Linked DNA regions of Homo sapiens: regions 2 and 3 are each linked to region 1. The links are contacts of gene promoters, found by promoter capture Hi-C in human tissues and cell types (Jung and others, 2019). All regions are on one chromosome and are shown on one strand. Each heading gives the region's core, a stretch centred on a gene start or on the middle of the fragment in contact. The rest is flanking DNA. Distances are from core to core; before and after follow the strand shown. Region 1 holds the start of KAZALD1 (Kazal type serine peptidase inhibitor domain 1). Region 2 overlaps OGA (O-GlcNAcase). Region 3 holds the start of POLL (DNA polymerase lambda).

Region 1 (4,085 bases), core at 495-2,994:
AAATTGCTGGGACCCCCACGGGGTGTTTGTTTTCTGGCTGCCCCAGCCGAGCCAGACGCAGAGCCCGGGCTCAGGAAGTGAAAGTTACTAAAGCTACCAAGGAAAGCTAGAGGCCTGAATGGACCCCAGTCCCCAGGGATAGAGAAAGAACTTCCCGCTCCCCTTCACTAATCCCTAAAAGCAGGAGAAAGCAGAGAGGTGGGGAGACTGGGTGAACAAACTGCTCTAAGAATGAAACGTGATTGCATCTCACAGGAACCCGTCTTGCTGCCTGGACTCCACTGGTCTGGGAAAAGTCGGGGGGGTCTCTGAGCAAACCATAGGTTATGTGCCTGCGCCCTCAGAGGACCTGTCTCTCCCTGCCAGCCAGCTCTGGAGCTTTCACGTGGTTCAGCGAATGCAGCTTGCTGACGAAGCCCGGGACTCCCACTCCACTCCACCCCCCACCCCCACCTTAAGGTGGCAGCTTTTATGAACCAGTAGCGAGAGCAGGGTTTTATACTGGACTCGAGGCCTCTATAGCCTTATCTTTTTTGCTCTGCTGGCCAGAGACCAATGCTGTCAGGGGTCGGGGAGCAGTGCCTCTAGGAAACCTAAGTGCTGGGGTGGGGGCCCCGGGCCATGCGTACCCGATTCGCAGGGCCCCGGGTGTGCCACAGTGAGGTTGGCATCGGGCCGAGCGCGGGCCGCCTCCTGCAGGCGGCAGATCTGGGAGTAGGTGTGACCGTCGGACCCGCAGAGCGGACTCTGCGAACGACAGGCACACAGAGGTTCCGGCACCTCTCCGCGGCTCAGGTCGCCGCCTGTGTCCAGCCGGCACTCAAGCTGCTCGCCGCAGTGCCCGTAGAAGTGAGCACTGGGGTCCAGGTCGCAGAGCTGGCCCTCGAGGTTGGCGCATTCCCAGCAGCAGCCGCACGCGTCGCGCACCCTGCCCGCCAGGCAGCCCCGCGGCGCGGCGCACTCTTCTGGCCGGCAGGGAGCGCAGCCCTCGCCCTCCGCTAGCAGCCGCATCCAGCCGCGCCGCAGGTAATCTGGGCCTGGGGATGGCCTTGCGCCGGTCGGGGGCGGCGTCAGCACCACCAGCAGTAGCAGGAGCACAGGCAGCGCCAAGGCAGCTGCGGGCCGCGGCGGCGGCAGCATGGTTAGCGGGAAGCCCTGCGAGCACTCGGGGCATCAGCGCGTTCGGGCACCCTGCCAGGAAGGGAAGCCAGGTCAGGAGGTCAGAAACAGGGCCTGTGCCGAAAGACCAACCTCACTGCTTCTTGTACCAAAGCATGACACTAGCATCGCCCCCTCCCCTGCTACCAAGTAGCCTCCCCCAACACACAGGCCTAGTGACCCTCTAGGGATTATCCAGTTATGGCAGTTAGCAATCAGTTGGGCTGTTCTTGGGAGGGCTGGGAGTGAAGAGAGGTGAGGAAAGGGTGATAAGGCTCAGGCGCACGCACACCCACCACCAGCACCACTTCCGTGCACCACCCGACTCCGATCCCTGGCCCCTGAGCATCCTTGCCCAAAGAGAATGGGTGGCTCCAGAAGTAAGAAGCTGCTAATGGGGGGTGAGAACTGGGGGGGCTGATGCCGCCTCGCTTATGGCCTGGGGCACAGAGTGCTCACCTAGTGTCCGGAACTAGACCCTTCGCAGCAGCCGTGATTCGAGTCCGAAAGAAAAGGTTATGGAAAGAAAGCAGAGGCGCAGTCAGCCGGGCCCGCCGGCCACCTCTGCTCCGTCCTGAGGACTTCTGAGAGAGCCCACGAACTTGGATTCAGAAAGCAGCTCCTCCGGCCCCCTCTCTCCGCCCCTCGACTTCGCGCACCCGCCTTCCCACTAGTTCTAAGGCTGCCAATTTTATGTAGCCGCATGGGACCCTCCCGGGTCATTTCCCCCAGCCTGGCCCAAAGTCACAATGCGAGCAGAGGAGCCGTAACCAGACACCGAGGCTGGGAGAGAGGAAGGGGGTGAGGACCGGAGGCGGGGAGTGGGGGTAGGAGTTTGGCTGGGAAGCTCAAAGTGTTGGCTGAACGGCTAGGCCCTGTCCCATCTGATTTTACAGTCCCTGGCGTCGGCGAGGGCAGCTGCATAAGGGGGAGGCGGCAGGAGCTCTGGTGCCAAGTCATTTTACGTCGATGTCGGGGCGCTCCTGGAGGGCAGGACCAACCACCTTCGTCTCCCCGCAGCCCAGGGCTGGTTCCCGGGAGCGACCGCAGGCTTGCCCACCCAGCTGCCCCACCAAGGCGCGGACAGACTGGGCGCCTACATCCGCCTTCCCTCATCTGGCCTCCTTCTTCCTCCCCACATCCGGCAGGTGCTGCGACCCGCGGGTGAGCCGGGTGATTCGAGGTCGGAGCCGACCAGCGGCCGCAGGGAGAGGCGGGCTGGCGCCTCCCCGGCGGGCGTCCCTCGGGTCGGGATTACAGGTTACGGTTGCGAGGCTGGCAGGGCCGGAGACACTCGGCCTCGCGGCCGCCACCACCGCCACCGTGGCACTTTGGGCCGGGGGCGGGGAGGAGAGCATTCCTAGGGGCCCGCCAGCCAAACCCGGGTCGGGCAGGCCCCGCCCCGGCCGGCCCCAAGCGGCTCACAGAAGCCTTGGCGCAGTCCAGCTCGCGGGGGGATGGGCGAGGGTGGGGGGCAGAAATAGCAATCTGCAGCCGGCAAGGGGGCGGCACTTAGTCAGGCTCCGCCCACAAGACCCGGCTGCCGTCCCCGCCCGCCTGCGCGGGATCGACTCCGCATGCGCACTGGAGCCTCGGAATACAGCCAGGACTCTCCCGTCGGAATGCGCCCCTAAGTTGGGCCAAGCCCATTCATTCAGGGGCTCCCGAGCCACGTAGGCGCCATCCCTGGCCAGAGGGGTTCTGAGGAGGTGGGCAAGGGCAGACACTCTCTCCCGGTCTCAAATTCGAAATAGGGACTAGAAGGGAACTTCACGCGAGGCCTCGCAACTGTCGCGAGAATCAGAACAGGAAATCTAGGAACCGAGAACACTAAGAGCCCGCGGATTTTAAACAGGAAAAAGAAAGGGCGGAGCAAACTCTGGCGGATAGTTGTGAGTAATCCCTGGTCCTTGGAATAAGTGTCGACCTGAGACAGAAGGGGAACTGTCAGAGAGCTGCCGGAGACCCTGAAAAAGGCCAGAGACGGGGACTTGTGGGGCTGACGAATGGAATCACCCAAGGAGAGGTCTCTGACTCTAACAAAACACCTTGGGGACGGAGCTCCTTGGCTGGGATACAGAGCAGACAAGTCCGGGATCTTTTAGTGAATTGCTGCCGGCTTCTAAGGCCTGGAGCAGATATTCAACAACAAACTCCACGGACCTAGAAACTCTCCACTTATCCTACTATTGTAGACGGTGGCTTACTTTTAGTCTTCCCTATGCTCTAAGCTTCTGGTAGTAGGAATCGTGCCTAACTCACTACTGTATCTTGTGAACCTAGCCCCGCGCCTGGTGGCACGTCAAATTCTCGGTAAATATTTGTGGATTAAATGTGAAAGACTGCCTGAGTGTTTAACCTGGATTTTCTGAGTCGCTGATGGAGAACAGTAGGTAGACGGGGAACCAGCGCCCTCTGGTGGGCTTGTGGTTCGTGACGAGAACATGCTGGAACCGTGCATCCAGGTAGGCACAAAGATAATAAAAGGGGATCCGCTGTTATTAAGTAGAGATTTTGTTACATTAAAACCCTACATACCGTAAAAATGCTTTTAGAAGGGAGTTTTTTGAATAGGACACAACTTGAAAGTTTAGATACATTCCCCGATCCTCAACATCCCATACTTTATCCATCAAGGCTCCAAAATATTCAGTAACACCTATGCGCATCATACATAGTAAAGAGATAGCAAATGATTTTGCGTATATATACTTTGAAAATGTTTACTCGGTTTTGTGCAAAACAGGCCAAAGGGAAGGGATTTTCTAGCCTAGATGATGTGAATACTGCTAGGGAGAGGAGCCAGGTGGCAGCATCCTTTGCATTTAATGAGGGAGACTAGATCCAGATGGGCAGGGTGAAGTTGAAATTTGTTGAATAATAGATGGTCCCGCCTCTTTTTTCCCCTTTTCCTGCAGATGCTTGTA
Region 2 (4,085 bases), core at 892-3,391, 730 kb before region 1:
CACTGCACTCCAGCCGGGGCAGCAGAGTGAAACTCTGTCTCAAAAAAAAAAAAAAAAAAAAAAAAACAAGATATTATGGTCGTTTTGTTGAGTACTCAGGACAATTTAAGTAATTTAAATCTATTTGGTGGTTTCTCAGAAGGTTAATAACTTGCCTTCTGACTAATGCATTCTACATTGTGATTTAAAAATAAGAGCTCTTGAGAGTCTACTTTGTGATAGGAGCACTTCTTAATAAGTCTGTCCTGTCCCAACTTAAATACATTTTTCATCTCCAAAAAAGTTTTATGCCCCATGTTGGCCAACACATTACGTGATTATTTTGGTTTATACATCAGTATATGTTGTTGTTGTTTTGAGACAGTGTCTCACCTTGTCACCCAGGAATGCAATAGCACAAACATGGCTCACTGCAGCCTTGACCTCCCAGGCTCAAGTTATCCTCTTGCATCAGCCCTGCAAGTAGCTGGGACTACAGGTGCAAGCCACTACGCATCAGCTAACTTTTTTGTATTTTTTTTGTAGAGATGGGGTTTCGCCGTGTTGCCCAGGCTGGTCTCAAAGTCCTGAGCTCAAGCAGTCCGCCTGCCTCGGCCTCCCATACTGCTAGGATTACAAGCACGAGCCACTGTGCCTGGCCAGTATATGCATTTTTTAGATAGTTCCTTCTTGAGGATAGTTTTTATGCACAGTAAATAAGATATTTGGACCCCTACTTGTGATACTTTTTTCTTTTCTTCTATGTTGTTTCTCTTTTCCTTTTCTAAAATTCTCTACCCCTCTCCACCACACCAAAGTATTCATAGTCTTTTTATTTATTTATTTATTTTTTTGAGACAGAGTCTTGCTCTTGTTGCCCAGGCTGGAGTGCAGTGACGCAATCTTGGCTCACCGCAACCTCCACCTCTCAGGCTCAAGCAGTTCTCCTGCTTCAGCCTCTCGAGTAGTTGAGATGACAGGCATGTGCCACCACGCCCGGATAATTTTATATTTTTAATAGAGACGGGGTTTCTCCATGTTGGTCAGGCTGGTCTCAAACTCCCGACCTCAGGTGATCCGCCCTCCTCAGCCTCCCAAAGTGCTAGGATTATAGGCGTGAGCCACCGCGCCTGGCCTCATTTTCTTCATAGTTTATTTCTATATTTTACCTTCTGCCCTTAGTCACATGGCTGTGTAACAAGAGGCTGGTTTGGTGTTGCCTCGCTTACTTGGGATTACACTGACACTATGCTGGTGATTGAGCTGCTGATGTATTGCTGTTCCACATCTGACACTTTTCAGCATAAGAACTTTTTAAAAATTGTGGTAAAATATAAATAACATAAAATTTGCACATTTTCATGTAAGGAATACGTTAATTTAAAATATTTTATGTATTTTAAATGATTTTAGATTTACAGAAAAGTTGCAGAGTTAAAACAGAGTTTCTGTATACTCCTTATCCATTTTCTGTATTGGTGAAGTCTAAGTAACCAACATGGGTATATTATTAATCAGACACCAAACTTTATTCACCAGTTTTTTCTGCTAATGTCCTTTTCCTGTTCCAGGATCCAATACCACATAGCATTTAGACAAAATTTTTTTTTTTTTTTTTGAGACGGAGTTTCCCTCTGTCGCCTGGGGTGGAGTGCAATGGTGCGATCTCGGCTCACTGCAACCTCCGCCTCCCAGGTTCAAGTGATTCTCCTGCCTCAGCCTCCCGAGTAGTCGGGATTACAGGCGCCCACCACTAGGCCCAGCCAATTTTTGTATTTTTACTAGATACGGGGTTTCACGATGTTGGCCAGGCTGGTCTCAAACTCCTGACCTTGTGATTCACCTGTCTCGGCCTCCCAAAGTTCTGGGATTACAAGTGTGAGTGAGCCACCACGCCTGGCCAGAAAACTTTTTTTTTTTTTTTTTTTTTTCCCCGCCCAGGCTGGAGTGCGGTGGCAGGATCTCAGCCTACTGCAACCTCTGCCTCCCGGGTTCAAGCAATTCTCCTGCCTCAGCTTCCCGAGTTGCTGGGACTACAGGCGCACGCCGCCATGACTGGCTAATTTTTTATGTTTTTAGTAGAGACAGGGTTTTACTTTGTTGCCCAGGCTGGTCACAAACTCCTGAGCTCAGGCAGTCTGCCTGCCTCAGCCTCCTAAAGTGCTAGGATTACAGGCGTGAGCTACTAGACCCAACCCAAACTTTTTTTTTTTTTTTTTTTTAAGACAGAGTCTCGCTCTGTTGCCCAGGCTGGAGTGCAGTGGCGCCATCTCAGCTCACTGCAAGCTCCGCCTCCTGGGTTCACGCCATTCTCTTGCCTCAGCCTCCCGAGTAGCTGGGACTACAGGTGCCCGCCAACACGACCTAATTTTTTGTATTTTTTTTTAGTAGAGACAGGGTTTCACTGTGTCAGCCAGGATGGTCTTGATCTCTGGCCCAAGCTTTTAAAAGTGAAAACGGTGGCCAGGCACGGCAGCACACACTTGTAATTCTAGCACTTCAGGAGGCCGAGATAGAAGGATCACTCGAGCCCAGGAATTCGAGACCAGCCCTGACGATATAAATAGGGAAAGAGAGAGAGAGAGAGAGAGAGCGCGTGCACGCGAGGGAGAATGCCTGCCCCTCTCCAGCCTGGCCAACAGAAGGAGATCCTGTCTCAAAGAAAGTGAAAATGCTTCAGCTAGAATTATAGGATAATCCTGTGTGAGATAATTTACATAGTGACTGGAAGAGTTATTAAATATTGCTTTCTTGTTGCTAAGTTCTGTAGTTGGGTTAGATATCTAATGCGTAACTATTGTGAAAGTCAAGAGATTCTAATTTTTCCAGAAAATAATGTTGAGTTTCCATGAAGAACAGGAAGTACTGCCAGAAACTTTCCTTGCTAATTTCCCTTCTCTGATAAAGATGGACATTCACAAAAAAGTAACTGACCCAAGTGTGGCCAAAAGCATGATGGCTTGCCTCCTGTCTTCACTGAAGGCTAATGGTGAGTACATATTTGTGGAGTTGGTGGTATTTGGGCAAGATAGGGAAAGAACTATATATTTTTGGATATAAAAGGAAAGAAGTGAATTGTAAATTTATACTGCTTTTCCCACCTTTTATGATTTGGTTTCTGAATTAATTAGTGGTGAAGAATCGCATGTGTATTAATAATTGAGAAATGCTGGTTGGGCTTAGTGGCTCATGCTTGTAATCCTAGCACTTCGGGAGGCCGAAGTGGGAGGATCACTTGAGTCCAGGAGTTTGAGACCAGCCTGAGCAATATGGCTGAGACCCCATCTCTACCTAATTTAAAAAAAAAAAAAAAAAAGGCCGGGCACGGTGGCTCACGCAGCACTTTGGGAGGCCGAAGTGGGCGGATCATGAGGTCAAGAGATCGAGACCAGCCTGGCCAACATGGTGAAACCCTGTCTCTACTAAGAGTGGTGGCAGGCGCCTGTAATCCCAGCTACTCGGGAGGCTGAGGCAGGAGACTTGCTTGAAGCCGGGAGGCGGAGGTTGCAGTGAGCCGTGATCTTGCCACTGGACTCCAACAGAGCAAGATTCTGTCTCGGGTGCGGGGGAAGCTGGGTGCAGTGGCTCACGCCACTCATTATTGAATTTTTTGAATATGAATTTTTTTAATTGTGTGAAATGTAGGAGCTGGTGTAGACAGACAAGCCCTGTTTATATTAACCATCTCGAAGATTATAGTTTTATATCTATAATTATACTAATTAAGTGACTTATTTATGTTTTGAATATTTGTTTTATTTCTAGGCTCCCGGGGAGCTTTCTGTGAAGTGAGACCAGATGATAAAAGAATTCTGGAATTTTACAGCAAGTTAGGATGTTTTGAAATTGCAAAAATGGAAGGATTTCCAAAGGATGTGGTTATACTTGGTCGGAGCCTGTGACATTTGTTGACACTGTGAACTGTCCAAAAGTCTCTTAACTGCACCTTGTGAATGGTAGTTGAGGTCTTCATACAGTTCAGCCTCTAGAATGGTAACAAATCAGCCAATTGGATTCGAAACAAAGAAGACTATGTAAAACTCACCCATCACACTTTGAGACTACTCACTGGTTGGAAGAATATAGTATTGCAGCAAATCCTGTAT
Region 3 (4,085 bases), core at 542-3,041, 530 kb before region 1:
AGGGTCTCGCTCTGTCGCCCAAGCTGGAGTGCACTGGCATGATCTCGGCTCACTGCTGCGTCTACCTCGCTGGCTCAAGCGATCCTCTGGCCTCAGCCACCACAAGTAGCTGGGACTACAGGCATGTGCCATGATGCACGGCTTATTTATTTTTTTGTCTGAGACACAGTCTCACTCACTCTGTCACCCAGGCTGGAATGCAGTGGTGTGATCTCAGTTCACTGCAACCTCCATCTCCCGGGTTCAAGCGATTCTCCTGCCTCAGCCTCCAGAGTAGCTGGAATTACGGGTGCGCACCACCACACCTGGCTAATTTTTTTGTATTTTTAGTAGCGATGGGGTGGTTTCATCATGTTGGCTAGGCTGGTCTCGAACTCCTGGCCTCAAGGGATCCGCCCACTCGGCCTCCCAACATGCTGGGATTACAGGCGTGAACCACCACATCCGGCCATAATTTCCGTATTTTTTGTAGAGATGAGGTTTGGCCATGTTGCCCAAGCTGGTCTCGAACTCCTGAGCTCAAATGATCCGCCCACTTTGGCCTCCCAGAGTGCTGGAATTACGGGCGTGAGCCACTGTGCCTGACCTTATTAATTCTTTAGGACCCAGAAACATCATCACTTCTGTTGGGTCTTCCTCCAAAGAGATGTCACTTACACCTTCACTCTTTCCTACCATTTTATACAAGACTACAACCTCTATTTAACGCTTCTTATTATTTAAGTACATGTTTTTCCCAACCACTCTGAGTCCTGGGACAACATATCTTTTTCTTTCTGTTCTAGTTTAGAGCTTGGCACATAGTAAAAGTCTTCCTAAATGTTGCACGAACGAGTAAATGATTTTAATTTCCACAAACTCCAGGCTTCCCTGATTGGCCCCTGCCTGTGAACATGAGTCACCAGTTGTTATCTTGAAAGCCTCAGGAACTTCAGACGCAATTCATCCTGGCTACCCAGTGGGTCCAGAAAGGACCCAAGTGCACAAAGGGGCCGGCATCGGCCAATCCTAGGGTGGGGAAAAGTTAGGTATCCATGCCCCTGTGCCCACTTCTTCCAGGCACAGCCCTTGGTTCTTGCTCTAGCTCCCCTAAAGACACAGAAAATATTTAGAAGTTCACTTAACAAAAATATTACAGCTGGAAAGGACCTCAGAGATAACAATGGTAGTCCATCCACTTCATTTTATAGATGAGGAAAGTGAGGCCCAAACAAGTAAAGGAGCCGACTGAAGCGCCCGTGGTGAATTAATGGCACAGTCGGAACTAGAGCCCAGGCCTCTCTCCTCTCTAAAGTCTAAAACATTCTTGGATTTCAGTTTCCTCTTCTGTAAAACGGGGTGAAAATTAGCCTCTCAGGACAGTGGTGAGGAGCAAATGAGATAATGAATGTAAAAGAAATTACTATATTAGCAACAGAAATCAGAGCGGAGCGAGATGGTGTAGAGGAATCTAAGGGGTGTCCGGAGACATGTGTTCCAGTCATGTCATCTCTGTGAACCTCAGTCTCCTCATCTGCAAATGCAGGACCTGGCCCGGCTGACCGCCGAGACCCTTCCAGCTCTGCCGACCCAGGCCCTGAGGCCCTTCCCGGAGGGCCGGACCCTGAGGGAAAAAAACGAAGGAGCCCGTGGGGACCCTCGAGTTACCGTCCTGCAGCAGCGCAGTCTTCTGGGCTGTCCGCAGACTCTCCAACCAGCCCGTCACCGCCATCTTTCCCCTGCTAAGCAGCACGCCCAGCCGCTGCCATGGCAACCGTTCCAGAGGGTCACTTCCGGCTGACTCGGAAGCTATTCTGGCCATTTGCCCTCCTTCCCCCCTTCGTCCGCTCTCATTGGCTCTGCTGGTAAGTGGTCTATTCCTGCCCACCCCCGGGTGACTAGCTTGGCCAGTAGTCGACCCCACCCGGGGACCGACTCTGGGGGTTGGAGAGACTCTTGGGGCCGGGGTCGGGCACTCCAGCTTTCTTCTAGCCCCGAGCTGGGATTCCCTGGCCTGCGCCAGCTGCGTACACGGCGAGTACACCGCACCTGCCCGGGACTTCACCCGCAGCTGCGAGACTCCTCCATTCCCGGAGGGCTCCCCACACCTGCTGCGGCCGTGCCCCATCTCCCCGCAGCTGCGGCGCTGAGCACCCCCATGTCGAGAGGCTGAGACCAGGACAGGTGCAGGGCGTTCCCACTCACCCCCGAAAGTCCTCCTCCTTCCTCTGCGAGTCTGTGTTGGAGGTAGAGAAATAGTATGTGGGGTTTATGTGCAGGTCCTCCCCAGGCTCCGCTCCATCCCCTAAAGCTCCATTTCCTAGCCCAGCATCCCATTTGGTAAAGCCCTTCGAAGTGGGCCGCAGCAGGGCTGTGCTGAATCTTTAGCGCAACCCCTCTGAGGAATGGTGTCGTTTCCTACTCCTCAAAAGTACCCCCGATGGCACCAGCCTTCCCCTCATTTCCCGTAATACTCCAACTTCGAAAGGCTGGGGAGTGTGAAGCTAGGCTAAACCACTGAAGTTTAACCGGGTTTGAAGAGACCCCCTCCCCCGACCCGCTTCCCCAAACTGGGCTGCTACCCCCAAAGCCTGGTCAGGAAAGACCCTACCTCCATAGGCAAAGGGGTTGGAGGGCCTCAATTCTGGATTTCCACGTGCAGCAGCCCTGACCAACGCTCCAATAGGCCGGGATCCAGCCATACTTCAATGGATCCCAGGGGTATCTTGAAGGCATTTCCCAAGCGGCAGAAAATTCATGCTGATGCATCATCAAAAGTACTTGCAAAGATTCCTAGGAGGGAAGAGGGAGAAGAAGCAGAAGGTGAGCTGACCCAGTCTCAGAACCCTCGTGTGCTTGAACCCACAGCCTTCATGTGCTTCAGCCCTACGTTGTTTATGTCCAGAATCAGATATTGGAGCTGACTCTGCCTGTCCAGGGCCTGCAGGTCTGTTTGTATCTACCTTGTGCTAAGCTTGGTCCTGGGTCTTGGACAGGCTATTTGCTGTGTTACCTTCTTTTCTACCCGAAGACCTCTATCCATCAGAAAAGACTCCCTGGGCCCTCAGGGAATGACCAGTATAATTTTTGCCCTGAGGACTGGGACAGAAACCCCCCTCCATTACCCAGGCTTGTTGTTAGTTGTTTTGCAGCCAAATTGGCAAATAAATGGCAGAGGCTTTGGAGGCAGGGTTGTCGGGTCTGTCAGACTGTAAGGGCAAGAAACGCGCTTTGTTGAAAGAATAAATGATAAAGGATTCAAAGTATGGAGAGAGGCTGGGCGCGGTGGCTCTTGCCTGTAATCTCAGCACTTTGGGAGGCCGAGGCAGGCAGATCACCTGTGCTCAGGAGTTCGAGACCAGCTTGGGCAACATGGCGAAACCCTGTCTCTACTAAAAATACAAAAAATTAGCCAGGCATGGTGGCACACGCCGGTAATCCCAGCTACTCGGGAGGCTGAGGCATGAGAATCGCTTGAACTCGGGAGATGGAGGTTGCAGTGAGCCAAGACGATGCCACTGTACTCCAGCCTGGGCGACAGAGTGAGACTGTCTCCAAACAAAAACAAAACAAAAGAAAACAAAACAAACAAACAAAAAACAAAGTAAGAAGGGAGGAGGCATTCATTAAACAAATATTTACAGGTTACTTACAATGTGCCAGACACTTCTAGATTGCACCAAGGAACAGGACGTATGAAAATCCTTGTCCCTTACATTCAAGTGCTGGCCTGTGAGAAAATTTGCTATATGTAGAAGGAAAGCTGTCTGGATGGAAGGGAAATGCTTATTTTCAGGGTAGGGGACTGTGAACACGTCATTCAGATCATGTTAGAAGTTATGTCGTGGCCAGGGGGTGGCAGATAAAAATTAAAAAGTTACAACAGTAGTCATCTGGATGTTCCTTCCACAGAGTGGCTGAGCTCCCTTCGGGCCCATGTTGTGCGCACTGGCATTGGACGAGCCCGGGCAGAACTCTTTGAGAAGCAGATTGTTCAGCATGGCGGCCAGCTATGCCCTGCCCAGGGCCCAGGTGTCACTCACATTGTGGTGGATGAAGGCATGGACTATGAGCGAGCCCTCCGCCTTCTCAGACTACCCCAGCTG

What was found. Contacts are between HindIII fragments. The study calls those that stand out against the background at their distance.
Region 2: a fragment that was not itself captured here is called in contact with the fragment with the promoter of KAZALD1 in region 1 in 1 of the 25 tissues and cell types used here (dorsolateral prefrontal cortex).
Region 3: the fragment with the promoter of POLL here is called in contact with the fragment with the promoter of KAZALD1 in region 1 in 2 of the 25 tissues and cell types used here (aorta and dorsolateral prefrontal cortex).

Annotation. Positions count from the first base shown.
Region 1 is chr10:101,059,648-101,063,732 of GRCh38, reverse strand. KAZALD1 (Kazal type serine peptidase inhibitor domain 1) reads right to left here and starts at 1,744. Exons shown (of 5, transcript NM_030929.5): 1 at 1,618-1,744; 2 at 630-1,191. The coding sequence starts at 1,140. It overlaps LOC107984262 (a long non-coding RNA gene), which reads left to right and starts at 2,982. Exons shown (of 2, transcript XR_001747569.3): 1 at 2,982-3,623; 2 at 4,077-4,085. RefSeq lists silencers at 1,030-1,079, 2,260-2,679 and enhancers at 992-1,880, 2,807-3,101. The HindIII fragment of the contact is 18,453 bases long and covers 1-4,085 here.
Region 2 is chr10:101,786,247-101,790,331 of GRCh38, reverse strand. OGA (O-GlcNAcase) reads left to right here. Exons shown (of 16, transcript NM_012215.5): 15 at 2,809-2,968; 16 at 3,745-4,085. The coding sequence ends at 3,881. Among named protein-coding and RNA genes, the nearest start is that of NPM3, 4.8 kb to the right of the region's middle. The HindIII fragment of the contact is 7,414 bases long and covers 1-4,085 here.
Region 3 is chr10:101,585,963-101,590,047 of GRCh38, reverse strand. POLL (DNA polymerase lambda) reads left to right here and starts at 1,791. Exons shown (of 9, transcript NM_001174084.2): 1 at 1,791-2,226; 2 at 2,642-2,802; 3 at 3,892-4,085. The coding sequence starts at 2,688. DPCD (deleted in primary ciliary dyskinesia homolog (mouse)) reads right to left here and starts at 1,727. Exons shown (of 6, transcript NM_015448.3): 1 at 1,648-1,727. The coding sequence starts at 1,711. RefSeq lists enhancers at 1,442-1,771, 1,872-2,151. The HindIII fragment of the contact is 10,926 bases long and covers 1-4,085 here.